2 separate regions of the Homo sapiens genome follow, and region 2 is linked to region 1. Evidence: promoter capture Hi-C in 16 types of primary human blood cells and fetal thymus (Javierre and others, 2016). All regions are on one chromosome and are shown on one strand. Each heading gives the region's core, a stretch centred on a gene start or on the middle of the fragment in contact. The rest is flanking DNA. Distances are from core to core; before and after follow the strand shown. Region 1 holds the start of FLJ13224 (a long non-coding RNA gene). Region 2 overlaps ALG10 (ALG10 alpha-1,2-glucosyltransferase).

The links. Contacts are between HindIII fragments. The CHiCAGO score rates a contact against its expected background, and 5 or more counts as called.
Region 2: a contact is called between a fragment that was not itself captured here and the fragment with the promoter of FLJ13224 in region 1, in 4 of 17 cell types (activated CD4 T cells, non-activated CD4 T cells, total CD4 T cells and 1 more). The highest score is 10.4, in activated CD4 T cells.

The regions. Positions count from the first base shown.
Region 1 is chr12:31,321,221-31,325,923 of GRCh38, reverse strand. FLJ13224 (a long non-coding RNA gene) reads right to left here and starts at 1,608. Exons shown (of 1, transcript NR_026806.1): 1 at 1-1,608. All of the region lies in intron 1 of SINHCAF (SIN3-HDAC complex associated factor), which reads left to right. RefSeq lists an enhancer at 1-685. The HindIII fragment of the contact is 3,270 bases long and covers 1-2,490 here.
Region 2 is chr12:34,026,565-34,031,945 of GRCh38, reverse strand. It overlaps ALG10 (ALG10 alpha-1,2-glucosyltransferase), which reads right to left. Exons shown (of 3, transcript NM_032834.4): 3 at 3,644-5,381. The coding sequence ends at 5,031. Among named protein-coding and RNA genes, the nearest start is that of ALG10, 6.8 kb to the right of the region's middle. The HindIII fragment of the contact is 2,454 bases long and covers 2,303-4,756 here.

The DNA.
Region 1 (4,703 bases), core at 359-2,858:
TCCTTCCACATACACACAGGAAGTTTTGTCTTGGAGGTGGCATTGTTGGGAGCGCTGTTTTCGTGATCTTCAGACCCCAGGTTCTTTGGTACGCTCGTGTTTAGTGTGTATTTATTAATTGGGGAGGGTATTTGAGGCAAACCGAAAGTCTCGGGGCGGGGAAGTGAGTGGAGCCTGGGCATAATTGAGGAGTCGCCGGAGTTGAGGGATCCACGTTGAAGGTGACAATGACTTTTCTCCGCCGCAGTGTTCTCTCGCGGAAAGGAGCCCGGCGGCCGAAAGGCCCGAGAGGAAAGCGACTCGTTGGCCACCGCGCAGCGGCCGGGGTCGGTGCGTCCGCGTGGGCGCGAGGCGCGGGCAGGGTCGGGCGCCGTTGTGAAACCTCGTGGTTTAGTTGACTGCAGCCCTCGGACTAGGGTGGACAATAAACGCCATTCGCTCGGAAACTAAGTTGCCATCCGCTTCCGAGCTGGCGGCCGAGGGTCTTTAAATCGGCCTTTGGGGGTCAGTGCTGGGCTCTGCCGGAGCGCACGCGGCGTGGCGTTGTTTGCTCAACTCCGGAGGGATGCGGATGCGACAATGAGAGCAACACGCGGTCGCTTAAAAACAGCCCGTCTTCCACTCGCCTGCCCTCTTCGGACCGCGCCCAAGAGCCTCTGGTGTCCGGGGTGCTTTCGGAGCCCGAAGTTTTGCTCCCGGTGCGTTCACCTGTAGCGTAGGTGTGGGCGACACCGCGAGGGCTTCCCGTTTATGGGCGGCCGTCCGCGCTGTAAGATGGCCAGGGAAGCCAACTTGGCTGGAGATGGAGGCGGCGGCGTTGTGTACGCCGCGGGAGTCAGTGAACTCCGCAGGGCACTGCTTTTTGTGCTCTACGTGACAGACCACGTGCTTCGGGCTGCGACCCTGGTCCTTGTCCGAATGTCCAGCCCCGCGTGAGCCGTGGGATGCGGCCGCCGTCGGGCAGGTCCGGCCGGCAGGACAATGTGGTTTGCTGATGATGGCGTCTTGCCAGTTTAAAAAGCAGAGTGAAAGTCGCCAACTCTCCGCCCGTGCGGGGCGGATACTCCGGGCGTTTCTCATCAAGGACACTGCAAAACTTTGATTAAATGGGCCTGCTCCCGAGGGGAGGGTCGGGGGGCCAGGCTCCGGACTCTTCGGGGCGCGGGGTCCGGACCCCTACCCAGGGTGATCGTCCAGTGTCCGGCCCCTGCGAAACGCTCCGACATCCCTGATGCTGCACGTAGGCAGCGCCCGGCTGGACAGAAAACAAAGGGCTGCATGTGCCCGTGCGGGCCCCCGGCGCTCGGGGCCGCCGCCTGGGCGTAGGGCCGTGCAGGTCGGAGGCCCTCGAAGTTCGGGCGAGTTTCGGGAGGGGCTTTTGTCCCTCAGCCCCCTCGTGGGGAAACTTTGGCGGCGCTACTTGTGCGAGGTGCCATGCTGGTGCGTAGGGAGGCGGCGTGCTTCCCCGCTCCGGGCGTGCGGGCGGGCGACCGAGGGAGGCGGCAGTGCCCGGCGCTTCAGCCCTGGCGTCGGGGGTTGCGACGGCCGAGGGTTCCGGGGAGCTTGGCCCGGACTGCTCGGCCGGTTTCTCGTGGCCCGGGAGCCTGTGTCTGGGAGGTCTGTGGGTTCGCCTTTGAAGTCGAACTGTTGCCATGTTTGAATTACGTCAGGGCAAAGCCATGAGGAGGAACAAGCCCCGGCAGCGCGGCGTGCGGGAGGCGCGGCCTGCGGGAGGCGCCGGGCCGGGCTGGCGCGGGGCCCGTTGTTCCGGCGCAGGTGAGGGAGGTGGCGGCGAGCGACGCGGTTCACCTCCCGCTGCCCTCGCCCTCGCCCCGGCGAGCGGCCCCCGCAGGAACTTTCCTCCCGACGCGAGATGTCTTATTTACCAACAAATCCACCAGGGAGCATTCTTACTTGCTGGCTCGGCGTCTCTCTCGGCAGTCACCGGAGTGCCCGAGGGGGAAGCACGATTTACGGAAGGTGGGGACCCGAGGGCCCTGGGAGGAGCGGGGAGGCATTTTACTGCTTTCAGAGAAACGGGTGAGGGCGGCGAGCACCTCCTCCCCAGCCGAGCTGTGGCCCGCAAGTCCAGGGGACCCAGCCCCGACGACGCCCGATAAACCACCGTGGGGAAGTTCCGGGGCTCCCTGTTGCCCTACTAAGGGAAGTGAGGACTGTGGGCGAATTGTGCGTGCGGCCAGTTTCTTTGTGTGTTTCTAGGGGGTGGGGGGAGCGGGGAAGGGCAAGGTTTGTTTTGGTGTAGGGGGAGTTGGTTTCTTGAGGTGGTAGGGCGGTGCAGTTTGTTCTGGTAACTATGACCCTAGTCAGTTTCTTTGTTTTTATTTTCTTCCTGTAACCTTCCATTACTTCAGGCACTCGGAAGATTAGGATTTACTCTTGAGTTAAACAGGGACCCTATCCGAGACAGTTTTACCCCAGCAATTCTTTCTCCCCCTTCTTAAGTTGTCCTAAGGAGGGTTAAGAAAAGCTTTTCTTTTTCTTTTAATAATTTAAAAATGAATTTGACCTTGTTATTCAGAGTACGCTGAAAGCACCTGTTTTTGAACTGGAATTTGCCAGACTTGAAAAGCCTTTTAAAATTTTATGTCGCAAAATTGAACACATTTAGTTGCCCAATCTAAAAGTCTGGGAGTTTGTTTCTGGTGGAGTTTCGGAGAAAACCCTCATGGCATTTAAAGTATTTATATAATGATTTTGGGAAGGGGGATCTTTTTTAGGCGAAAGGTATGCGTGACTCAGTGTTTGGTGGTTATTCAGTGCCTTAGGATGACCTTGAAGAAGCAAATGTTTAGGGAGTTGGGCCTTTTGGAAACATTGTAAGGAGGCTGGGGAGCTGGCTGGGGAGGAAGCTGCTCAGGAAGATGACACAGGGTAACGGCTAGCTTCTTCCCAGATCCCGTGAACTGTGGTTGACCTTCTGGTTACCTCTCCTAGATTTTTCTTTTCAAGCTAACCTTTTCTTTTTTTGTATGTGGCCCCAGGCATAGCTCAAAAATTATGCTGGTTTGACACATGGATGCTTCTTTGGTATTTGGGGTTTGCCTGTAGTCTAGACATCCGATACCCACCACCATATCTGTTGCTTCTTTCCTGATTTCTCCTGCATTTGAATCATGTGTAAGGCCTAGAATCTAAGTGATCATTACTAGGAAATAATACCCTTGAATGCCCCTGCCCCCACACACCTAAAAATCGATACTAGTTGAAATCCATTTTTTTTCATTATTTTGTTATTAATAAACCTATTTTTCCCAAGTTTTGGTTGACCAAATTACAATACCAAAAGGCAACCTATATTAGTACATTTCTGTAGTAAATAGAAAGAGCATGTCAGGAAAATGAAAAACTTTGGACCTATTTTTCCCAAGTTTTGGTTGACCAAATTACAATACCAAAAGGCAACCTATATTAGTACATTTCTGTATTAAATAGAAAGAGCATGTCAAGAAAATGAAAAACTTTGGATTTAATAACTTTGGCTTTCCTTTCGCAGCTATTTCTCTGGGTCCTGTATTTAAAATGCATATGAGGTGCTTTGCAAATACGCTGAGATTGTTTGAGTTGTTTTTCTTAATTAGTATTTCATAGCTAAGTTATGGCTAGAATTTCCATTTCCTAGCAGATTTCATATACTACATACAGAGCTTAATGGTTTTTGTTTTACTAATTAGATGATGTAAAACAGAGATTTGGATTATCAATGTGAATGAATTCAGGGTGGGAAAGACCCACAGACAAGGTCTCTACTGCCTTCTCTTTGTATTGCTTTTGTGGGAGGTTGGAGATACGAAGTTCAATTGGTAGAATATTCTAGATCACTGGTGGACAGCAGGCCCCAAGTCTGTCTGTCCTTGCACAGTATTCTTAATTCTGTATATCTGGAACCTGAATGGTCAATTTTTTTTTTTTTCCCCCAGAGTGGTTATCAAGTCCTGGGAAATCCTGACTCATAGGGCTCAAACTCAGACATATTTATGTCAGAGAAGCAATTTAAGAACCATTTTACATGTAAAATAAAAGTTTTTCACTGGGGAAAGCATAAACTTTTAAATCTAAACCAACTATACAGGGCTCTTATGAGGATAAATTAATCAATTTACCATGCCAGGCACATAGTAGGTTGCTTTAAAAGTATGTCATTTTCGTTTTTTCTTAAGAGATGGTAGGAATATAATTGGTTGAGCAGAAAAGGAACACATGTATTGAGGCACGAAGTTTTGCTGTTCAGAGGTTTCTGGGTTAGTAATGCTTGGGTTTCAAAGCTGTCATCATCTTATAGTCACTTTGTGATCCAGTTTTTTTCATCTGTAAAATGGTAGTAATACCTATTTTAAATAAGTTGTAATTAAGCCAGTGACATGATTGATAAATATTAGCTGTGTTGTCCTCACAACACTGGGAAGTAGACATTTTACAGAAGATAAAACTGAGGCCTGTGTCAGTTATCGTTTCTGGGGAAACATTAAGTAAATTTTTAGTGGAAAGAATGAGTGTCTTTGGTCCCCTCCCTTACCTTAAGAAAGCAGTTCTGGGAAGACACTGCCCTTGACTCTTGGTTGTCTTTTCAATTCTGATTCAACCATTTTACATCAGAAAGTCCTGCGGAAACCTGGAAAATGTCATTTTTCTTTCTTCCTGATTTCTCTTGTCCACAAGATTGTCTTGTATTTCCCACACTTAAG
Region 2 (5,381 bases), core at 2,280-4,779, 2.7 Mb before region 1:
GAACTGTCTGGGGCCACACATAAAATACACGAACACTAATGATAGCTGATGATCAAAAAAAAAAAAAAAAATCATAACAAATCTCATCATGTTTTAGGAAAGTTTACAAATTTGTGTTGGGGGCCGCATTCAAAGCCATCCTGGGCTACATGCGGCCTGTGAGTTGAAAAAACTTTCACTAAAGCAAATAAAAATTTTTAACCCTGGGTCAGAAAATTATGCACAAAAATGTTTAGGATGACTCTTATTATGAAACACGATTTACTTCCTAAAATTAGCCACGGTTATATGGATATTTTTTCTATTCACTTCACTCTATACTAAAAACTTCATTCAGTATATATTTACTCAATATTTATCATATGACATAAATATTATGAGTATATGGCAGGGATGAATCCTTTTTAAAATAAGGTTATACACATACCAATCAGACACTGACTAGAGTTTGGACAAATACTATTCTCATCTGAAATGAGGACTGAAGACTAAACCACTTGCCTTATTGATCCCAGAGCCACAACCAAATATAAAAATCTTAACCCCCATGTTAACTGTTTTTTTCTACAAGCCCATGGTTCCTAAGTCATATTTAAATTTCCATTTAAAAATTTTCAAATTTACATCACAATTCTTACTTGCTTCACTTTTTAATGAAATTCCAATTATTTCAAAGATAATAAATGCTTGCTAACCTAATAAACACAAAATGTATTTCTTCATATGAATAAATATTTTATTTAAAAGTGAGTCCAAAATAACAGTCCACTATTTAGGTGGTATAAATAAAAATGGTAGATCCCTTCCTCTCTCCTCTATTCCAACAATTCTAAGGAAAATAATATCAAGCCAAGTGGCAATTAAGTTCAAACTAGAAATGCATTTCATTAAGCTGTGTATTTATTAGAAATAAATTACACTAGGCTATTTATACAAAGTATTTTATGACTGGCTATGCACATTTCAGAAATAACTCTAAGAAGGCAAAGAAAAGTCCAGACAGCTAAAATAATGTATCTTGCCAAAATGAGATGCTATGTTTAAACTGAGAGATACTATCTTTCCAAATCATTTAAATATAGTCAGACGCAGTTCAAAAGATTTCTGACTATCCATTAATGGAAAACATAAACGTAACAAAATTCACAGCATACCTGAAATCTTACTAATTTACCTAAAGATAACATATCTCTAGAATTTCACAGAAGATAGAATCAGTTCAAAATGATGTATTACTGAACCTATAACGATTTATGGACTAGATCTTTTTATGACACTTTTCAAAACAGACATACTCACAGACTTTAGTAACGGTAACTGTAGGGCTCCATATGCCCTCAAGCAGGGCAACATTTTTTTTCATAATCACCTTATTTTAATCAATTCAGCTAAGTCTAATGTTTAAAAATTCATGAAAAAAAATCCACTCAATAACTCTTAAAAACACAAATATAACTAAGAATATTTCTAAAAGCAAGGATCTAAACACCTAAGAATGGTCTTCTCAGTTGTTTCAAGTGAATGACTTTGAGTTTGGTATCATTTCTTGAACAACTAAAGGCAAAAGGATATGTTGTGCCAAGTTCTTACATAATCATTTTATCTGTTACCTATTTTGGAAAATTCACCAGCAAATGGCCATCTTTGAACTGCCTAGAAAATTTAACCAAGACATTTATCTTAAATTCAAAAGTATTGATAAGCATTCCTGTTTTAAAATAATAAACAGTTGAAAATAGCACCTTTTAATACATGGCATTCTTTTCTTAAAATCCCAAGTACTATATGTATTTTATTAAAAATGTGGAAGATTAATCTGTTTCTCTCTGAATGTAGATTTTCACCAAAACATCTCTTAAAACAGCAGGGACTCAACACTTAAAAATGAACTAGAAGAGCTGGGCACAGTGGCTCACGCCTGTAATCCCAGCACTTTGGGAGGCCGAGACGGGTGTACTACCTGAGGTCAGGAGTTCGAGACCAGCCTAGCCAACATGGTGAAATCCCGTCTCTACTAAAAATAGGAAAAATTAGCCGGGCGTGGTGGCAGGTGCCTATAATCCCAGCTACTCGGGAGGCTGAGGCAGGAGAATTGCTTGAACCCGGGAGGTGGAGGTTTCAGTGAGCCGAGATCAAGCCATTGCACTCCAGCCTGGGGGACAAGAGTGAGACTTCTCCTCAAAAAAAAAAAAAAAAAAAAAAAAAAAAATCTAGAACAGTGATCCCTCCAAAGAGCAGTCTTCTTTAATTACAGGGTAGAATATTTTCCTCAATTTTGCCAGACTAGATCAGAGTGGAAGCTTCTCCTCTCAGAAGTATTCCTAAATACAAAATCCTTGCATTAATATTATCAGACAAAAAGTTATTTTCCCTAAATTATACATTCTTTTTTCAATTTTGACTTCTCGGATTTAGTTCTCTATTATAGTAAATTAATGACAAAAGTATAATTTCTCTGAGTGTCCTCTCTCGTCTAATTTTTAAAAAGTCTGGGTAAAACACGTTTTTCTACAATCACTGTTATAACTAATGCAACTCTATTTTCTGAGTACTAGAGTACAACCAAAAAACGGTCTGTATTTATCATTCAAATTATACTTGTGATTTTCACCTACACACAATTTTATATTTGTAAATGTAGAATCATTACTTAAAACTCAGAGAAACAAAATTTGACATTGAGGGGAAAGTAATTTGTTCACTTATAGCTACTTTTAAAGTTTGGAAACATAAAATTATGTTAAAAGAAGTGTTCTATTCATAATTCTAAGTTTACATGTCAAATTTAACATGCCCAAATAATACTTTCCTATAATGGAATGACAACCCAAAAAATACACTCAAAATAATAAACACAAAATTCAAAAAGTAACACAAAATAATCCTACCCCAGCAGTTGTTCCCTAATCTACAAAATAAGGTCAGACCAAATGATTTCTTAACTTTCAATTCTGACATTTTTTTAAATAGATAATGGAATCAAACACTAGTCACCTTTAGCTTTATATTACCTCAGAAGTCACTTACTTTTTAACCTCTCAGTAAAGATACTGAGAGTTATTTAAAAGGTATCGGCTAAGATATTATCTCCTGATCCAACAATCCCACTTCTGGGCATTTATCCAGAAGACTTGAAATCCGTATGTCAAAGAGAAGTCTGCACTCCACGTTCACTGCAGACAAGTCACAATTATCAAGTTATTCAATCAACCTAAATGTCCATCAATGGATGCATGGATAAAGAAAATGTGGCATATATACACAATAAAATACTATTTGGCCTTTAAAAAGGTAGAAATTGTGTCATTTGCAACAATATGGATGAACCTGGAGGACATTATGGTAAGTGAAATAAGCCAAGCACAGAAAGACAAATACCACATGATCTCACTTATTTGTGTAATCTAAAACAATTAAACTCACAGAAGTAGAGAGAAGAATGATGGTTGCTAGAGGCCGGGGATGTGGGAATGGGGAGATGATAATCAAAAGATACAAAGCCTCAATTAGATAGAAGGAGCATGTTTGACTTTTTTTAGATCTATTACACAACATGGTGAATACAGCTAATAATTAAGCACTGTACATTTCAATACTGCTGAGAGTAAATTTCAAATGTTTTCATCACAAAATATGTCAAATATTTGAGGTGATGGATAGATTAGCTTTATTTAATCCCACATTATATTCAAAAATCATAATGCCACTTTGTTTCTCATAAGTATATACAACTATAATTTGATATATAATAAAAAAAATCTAAAAAGGTAGTCTCCTAACAATCATATGAAGACTATCCTAAAATGTCCTTTAGTAACTGTCATGGACTGAAAAGTATCCCACGAAGAGACAATGTCTACTCAGATCATGTGAATACAAACTTACTTGGAACATGGGTCTTTGTAAACATAATTAAGGGTCTCCAGACACAATCACCCTAGATCAGGGTGGGCCCTACATTCAAAGACACTGTCCTTAAAAGGTAATGAAGAGAAGACAGAGGGAAAGGCCGTGTGAACACAGAGGCAGAGACTGGAGTGAAGATTGCTGTCTGCAATACTTGGACAAGATTTGTCCAGAAGCCAAAGAACTCCAAGAATTGCACACAGCCACAAGATATTAGGAAACAGACATAGAATGTCTGTTTATGGATTCTTCCTTAGAGCCTCCAGAAGGAACCAACTCTGCTGACACTTTGATTTTAGACTTCTGGCCTCCAGACTGTGAGGAAAATTGTTGTAAGCACCCAAGTTTGTCGTCATTTGTTATGGAAGCCCTGGGAAGCTAATACAATATGTATTTCAGAAAGGAAATCCCCCTTTTAAAGGATTATAATCAATACAATTTGTCTTTGGCCATCATACATTTCATATTAGGAATTAGTGAAAGAGCTTCATCATTTCTAGATTGTAAACAATAACCAACAATTTGATGTCTAGACAGGCATATATGAGTCTCTACTTTATCATTTACTATCTATGCATTTGTATTTTGACTTAGAATTAAAATTATATTACTGAAATGTTAAGCAACTTTTCAATCAAGAATATCACCTGACCATTTGTAAATATTTGCTAATACATTGTTATTAGGTTGGTAAAAAAGTAATTGTGGTTTTGCCATTACTTTCAATGGCAAAAACCACAATTACTTTTGCACTAACCTAATATTTCTCTCTGAAGAGAATAAATTCATTCCAGTAATATGAAGCATACCCAGTTTTAATAAACTTGTACATACAAAACATTCCCAAGCTTTTTAAGGGGCCAACATTATGAGAGTGATATGAGATATCTGAAAACAATTTTATTTTTCCATTTTTCAGGCTTTTGAAGCAGGTCTTAAGCTTTCTCAGTTCTTTGCCACTTAATTTCTTACATATGTTTAAAATATATATAAAAAAAACTAATGTAATTTGAAGACCACCACTGCACCTAAAAGAAATTCCATGTTTTCCACCTATTCAGTTGTTCTTTGTAGAAATGGTCTAATTATTAAGTCCATTTTCACAGTTCGAAATATCACTGATATTACCACATAAACCTTTGAATGTCCTGACTATTTGGCCACTGAAAAGTCTTGTTCAGAAAGATGAAAAAAGTTATGAAATTAACAACTGCATAGCAGCTCAGTTCACAAATGAGTCTGGATGTGGGAGGCAGAGGTATGTTAAGCCTATAAATGACATAAGGTAAAATGAAGTAACGAAATTCCAGCAGTTTCTGAGGAACTATAACAGTGAACAAGCATATGAAAAACATTAAATTCCAAAAAATTGACTTTGATTTCAATGAGTCAGCTATACTCCAACCAGCAAATATATAGGCTGGAACTAACAAATATTTTACAGTTTCATATCTTTGAAAAACTCTTTTCCACAC